Linked DNA regions of Homo sapiens: region 2 is linked to region 1. The links are contacts of gene promoters, found by promoter capture Hi-C in human tissues and cell types (Jung and others, 2019). All regions are on one chromosome and are shown on one strand. The core of a region is centred on a gene start or on the middle of the fragment in contact, and the rest is flanking DNA. Distances in the headings are between cores, read along the strand shown. Region 1 holds the start of PCK1 (phosphoenolpyruvate carboxykinase 1). Region 2 has its middle 47 kb from the start of EDN3.

Region 1 (2,967 bases), core at 262-2,761:
TAACTTCAAATGAAACAAAAAGCACCTCATATCATATTTATCCTGAAAGACACAACTGGCTGAATAAAATCTGAATACAGGAAACATAGCAATGGGTTGATAATTTTGGTGGAACTTGATGATGTGTGACCCACGCCCAACACAGTGTGACCCAAGCCCCCAGGAGGGTTCTCTAAGTGAGTTTGGTCGGAGGCTGCCATTCACAGTGACTTGTATTTGCCACAGCAGCTCTTTCTAAGCCCAGTCCTGGGATTATCTCAGGGATCATCCCACACCCCAGCGGGGAGATGGGCCAAGTCCCCACCTGACCTCATCTTAGGTAGAGAGGCTTCCATGGAAGTGTGGGCTGGCTGTGGGGGGTTGAGACCTAGCCCCGTTCTTTTGACATTTCACCCTGTGTTCTCCAAACTCCAGCAAGCAGCTTCCATAGCTCATTAAATTTGACTGAAGGTCTGATGGCTTGCAAAGCAAATTCTTTACAACTGTTATAAAGGTTTCATTGCTTAAGCATATAATCTAGCAAAACTGCCAAGCCCCCTCCACTCCCTAAACTCTAAGACTTGCCAGGGAAGAGAACAGTGGCCAGTGGACTGCAGGAGTAACTGCACTCAGCCCAGAACTCCCTGGAGGACACAGGGAAGGTTCTGGAAAGGTGGCGGTACCTCACAGGGAGAGACGTGGTGCTCCAGGGCCCAACTTGCTCATGTTCAGATCCTCACTCTGCAACCCACCAGCCGGCTGTGAGTGGCTACACAATCTCTGCCTCAGTTTCCCTATCTGTACATGGGTTGTTCATAGCCTCCACCTCAGAGGGTAGTAATGATGCCAAGCTCTTAGAACAGTGCTCAGCATGTGTGCATCCTGTGCCTACTCTATGCCAAGCACTACAGAGAGAAAAATGAACAAAATAGGGAGAAATCCCTGCCCTCATGGAGTTTACATCGGGGCAGGGGGCGGGGGCGGCACAGAGCAGACAATCAATACAGTGATTAGCCCCCAGTTAGGTTAGGCATTTCCAATCTTTGCCAATAAGCCACATATTTGCCCAAGTTAGGGTGCATCCTTCCCATGAACTTTGACTGTGACCTTTGACTATGGGGTGACATCTTATAGCTGTGGTGTTTTGCCAACCAGCAGCTCTTGGTACACAAAATGTGCTGCTAGCAGGTGCCCCGGCCAACCTTGTCCTTGACCCACCTGCCTGTTAAGAAAAGGGTGTTGTGTTTTGCAACAGCAGTAAAATGGGTCAAGGTTTAGTCAGTTGGAAGTTGTGTCAAAACTCACTATGGTTGGTTGAGGGCTCGAAGTCTCCCAGCATTCATTAACAACTATCTGTTCAATGATTATCTCCCTGGGGCGTGTTGCAGTGAGTTGGCCCAAAGCATAACTGACCCTGGCCGTGATCCAGAGACCTGCCCCCTGACGTCAGTGGCGAGCCTCCCTGGGTGCAGCTGAGGGGCAGGGCTATTCTTTTCCACAGTATTTAAAGCTGGGAGGTTCTGCCACCAAGCACGGCCTTCCCACTGGGAACACAAACTTGCTGGCGGGAAGAGCCCGGAAAGAAACCTGTGGATCTCCCTTCGAGATCATCCAAAGAGAAGAAAGGTAAGTAGAGCTTTGCATTTACATTTTGAAAAATTACAAAGATGAACTCATTTTTTTCCTGAGAGCAATAACTATTTGGCAATGCACAGCCCTGGCAAAAGGCCGTCGAATGTGTTTGAAGGTGTCTGTTGTTGTTTTTGTTCAGGACGCTTGCGTTTTCTATTTCAGGTGACCTCACATTCGTGCCCCTTAGCAGCACTCTGCAGAAATGCCTCCTCAGCTGCAAAACGGCCTGAACCTCTCGGCCAAAGTTGTCCAGGGAAGCCTGGACAGCCTACCCCAGGCAGTGAGGGAGTTTCTCGAGAATAACGCTGAGCTGTGTCAGCCTGATCACATCCACATCTGTGACGGCTCTGAGGAGGAGAATGGGCGGCTTCTGGGCCAGATGGAGGAAGAGGGCATCCTCAGGCGGCTGAAGAAGTATGACAACTGGTAAGCTCGGCCCCCGCTGCCTGTCCCAGCACCCTGCAGGCAGGGCTCCCCTGCGTCTCCTGGGAGTTGGTGGAGAAAGGTGAATGAAGGCCTTCGGGTAGTTTCAGACTCTTGAGAAGATGAATGCAATGGTCAGAACCATACAGACTTGAATTTTGTGACATTAGTGGGCCAGCCCAAGCTTTAAATGAGGTGTGTGCACAAAAGCTCTGCCAACTAGATTCCTGATTAAAAAAAAGGCAGCCCCTCTCCTACAGACCAGGTCCTAGTGGAGTAAATGTCCACCTGGCCATGTCTTAGATGGTCTGTGTGTTCACACTGATGGACTGTTGTTAGCGTGCTCAGCACTCTGCTAGGCATGGAAAGCCACGGTACTGAAGGAGATGGTTCGCTGCCCGTGGTGCTTGGCTGAAAGGAAGCCTGTGATTTTTGCAGCTGGTTGGCTCTCACTGACCCCAGGGATGTGGCCAGGATCGAAAGCAAGACGGTTATCGTCACCCAAGAGCAAAGAGACACAGTGCCCATCCCCAAAACAGGCCTCAGCCAGCTCGGTCGCTGGATGTCAGAGGAGGATTTTGAGAAAGCGTTCAATGCCAGGTTCCCAGGGTGCATGAAAGGTGAGCGGAACATTGATTTGATTGGGTAAAACAGCAGAGAGCCTTTTCTTATTTACATCTATCCTAATGGTAATTCAAACAATAATGGAAGCTCCCACCACCTCAGATGTCTTTCAGTTCCATACATGAAGTTGGCAATGTATTGAAAATGCACATCCCTCTTCTGCTTTTACAGACTGTCTTATACAAACGTGAAAACTAGTTCCATGCATATGGGTTTTAAATAGCTTGGTGGGACCCAATTGCACATTTATGAAAACTCTTTAATTTCAGCAGGCTGTTCACTTTCCAGTGGCCTCTTCTAACCCAGGGG
Region 2 (2,967 bases), core at 247-2,746, 1.8 Mb after region 1:
CGGGACCCACAAGCACAGCCCTCTCCTCCTGTATGCCATTCTGTGGGATTCTGGAAAGTCCAAAGGGATGATCTAGGGCAAAGAATCACCCATGGCCCGGCACCACGAGGGCCGGAATAGTACATGCCTGAGGCCTGGGTCCAGGACTTGCTTCCAAAATTGCACTCAAGGCTCTCTTGCCTTTGGGATAAAAGACCAATTCTCTGATAAGGCTTGTGATATTGATTTTTAAAAAGTCAAAAGAAGAATATTTTTTTGATACAAATAATGATATGAAATTCAAATTCTGGTGTCCACAAATAAAGTTTTATTGGAACACATTCATGCCTGTTCATCTGCCAATTGTCTGTGGCTGCTTTCTTGACACAATGGCAGAGTTGAGTAGTTTTAATAACCATGTGACTCACAAAGTCTAAGATACATACTACATGGCCTTTTACGGAAAGATTTCCTGTTCCCCTACCCCCGTTTAGAATTGTGCAGCCTTCCCTGCTGGTTATTAAATAACCACCACCCTGAGCTCCCAAAAGCCCACTTCTAACCCTCCCCAGGAACCTTCGGGACCTCTCCCAATCTATGGATAAAGCTTGTCTGTCTGGAGAGCTCTGGAACCCTGTGAGAGCCTACGCACGTGTTGTTCTCATTGATGGTGCCCACTTTGTATCTGTGCATTGTAGTTTGAGTCCCATCCCTGATTTTCTCACTGCTCCTTCAAAGATGCTTCCTCCCTGCCTCAGAGTCTTAGCCCATGCTGTTACTTGTGCCTGGGATGTGCTTCCCTACATCTCCACCACCATGCACCAAGTCTGCAAATTCCTTCTCATCCTCAGATCTTGTCTGAAGTATCAAGAGGGCCTCTTGTCCTCCAACATTAGGTCTGGTCCTTCATTACACACTTTGGAGGAAGGTCACTGTGCAGCCACACTTAAGAAGTAGCCGGTCATCCTCCATCTCCCCGAGGGCACAGTATCTACATAAACTATTTGGAATTCTTCTGCCTGGGAGATTTATCTCTGTTCTCGAATTTATTTACTTAGTCAATCATTTATTTAATCAGTGTGGTCTCATGGATATTTATTTTTACTTTGGGTTACAATTCAATAACATTTTATGTATTTTATTGCACAAATTGTCCCAGCTTTGGGCACGGGGAGCTCTTTCAGCTGGCTCCTGTGTCCCTTTGACATAGTCTCATCGTTGTTAGTGGGATCTTTATTACTTGCTTTACCATTTCCTTACTTTCTGGCACTATAAGACACCCCAAGGTCATCTTGTATCAGTCCTACAAGAAGCTACTTTCCCAAGGGTCCTTTGTTCCTTTTACTGGACAATGATATTAGAAACCAAGATCTGGGTACAGGTGGGCTCATTGCTATAGGGATGCTGTTGCTTGTAGACTATCTCAGCTGACAGAGTAAGGGGATCCGATTGTGCATATTAACCCATGTATATGCACAGATCTATAAATATTTTTATTTGGAACCACCTGTATCCATGTAAAGCTCAACGTGAGTTCACACTAATGTCTCCAACTCTAATCCATCACCACATGGATCATTTGGCCTCCACCCCTTGCTTATCTCACTCCAGTGGTGAAAAGCTGGTGTTCACCATCTTCTGTCCATTTACTTCATTATTCAGTTGCCAGGGACATGGATATTAGTAACAGAATTATTCAATGGTGCCTCTCTTGACCCTGTGGGAAGCAACCTTATCAGCTCGAGTCAAGTGCTTCTGTACAGTTCCTTTTGTCTTTAGTGTTACTGACTTCACTCATTTCCAAAGTTACTAAAGTCAGTACCTTTCCTTTTCTGTGGGGTTGTCTCAAACATTTGCAATGCATTTAGATTGTTTGGTCACATTGTGCCCTTCCTTTTGGGATGAGGGATTCTTTTCATGAGTTAAGCACTGGGGCTCTGGCTTTCTAGAGAAGGGGCATGGAAAGTCTGTGTGGGGTACTTAGCAGAGGAGAGAAGGAGGATGACAGCACCCTTGATGGTGACACTACCTCACTAGCCCCCTGGCCTGGATTTAAAGTTTGGATGGTGAGAGGTTTTAAGGCCACAAACAAAGGACATTGATTTCCACAGGGATTTTGCAAGACTCTGGGCTCAAGCAGCCCCATTTTTGTGCCCAGGTGATAAATTATGACCACAAGTTGGGGAGAGGAATCCATCCTAACTCTTGGTTTTCTAGGGTTTGTGGAACTGGGGTTACTGGAAGGCAGCTCCTTTGGCAGATGCATCTATCACCCTGGCCAACATCGAGAGTCCCTTGGGCAGCTCCTGGAGAGGGAAGACACTGAGATGCACAAGAGGTGGCAGAGACAGAAGGGCCGATCAGGGAGGGTCCTTTGAGAGGACTGAAGCTGGCAGGCTCCAGGGTCATCCAGACATACTTGGGGCCTCTGTAAGGGGCTAGATTGGGTCCTGGGTAGGTACTGAGGTTCATAACCAGCATCACGTCTCAACACAAATGTTCATCTGCCCCCATGGGTGTCTACTATAGGTTGATGAGGCACAGGAGAGTGGAGGGGGTTTGGACCAGAGCTGTTCTTATTCCTGCTCTGCTGCCTGCTAGCCCTGTGGCCTTGAGCCAAGCATGTAACTCCTTCAAGCATTAATTTGCTCATCTTTAAAGTACGGAGAAATAATAATCATAGTACCTGCCTTAAAGAGTTGTGGTGAGGATCAATAAATTAATTCATTTCATTAGAACAGTGATTGGCACATAGTAAGGGCCCTGCGGAATGACAAAAATAGTGATATTGATGATGATAATGATAATAGTGATGGATGATGATTATGGTGATAATTGGTGATGATGAAGATGATATTGATGGTGATAATGATAATGATGGGTGATGATTATGGTGGTGATTGGTGATGATGATTATGACAATGATAATGGTGATGATTGATGTTGATAATGAAGATGATGATAATGGTGATTAATGATAACAGTGAT

The links. The method cuts DNA at HindIII sites, captures the fragments that hold promoters and counts their contacts. A contact is called where the count stands out against the background at its distance.
Region 2: a contact is called between a fragment that was not itself captured here and the fragment with the promoter of PCK1 in region 1, in 1 of the 25 tissues and cell types used here (lymphoblastoid cells).

Annotation. Positions count from the first base shown.
Region 1 is chr20:57,559,599-57,562,565 of GRCh38, forward strand. It overlaps PCK1 (phosphoenolpyruvate carboxykinase 1), which reads left to right and starts at 1,512. Exons shown (of 10, transcript NM_002591.4): 1 at 1,512-1,605; 2 at 1,774-2,037; 3 at 2,473-2,654. The coding sequence starts at 1,814. The HindIII fragment of the contact is 15,943 bases long and covers 1-2,967 here.
Region 2 is chr20:59,346,553-59,349,519 of GRCh38, forward strand. No RefSeq gene overlaps it. Among named protein-coding and RNA genes, the nearest start is that of EDN3, 47 kb to the left of the region's middle. The HindIII fragment of the contact is 8,722 bases long and covers 1-2,967 here.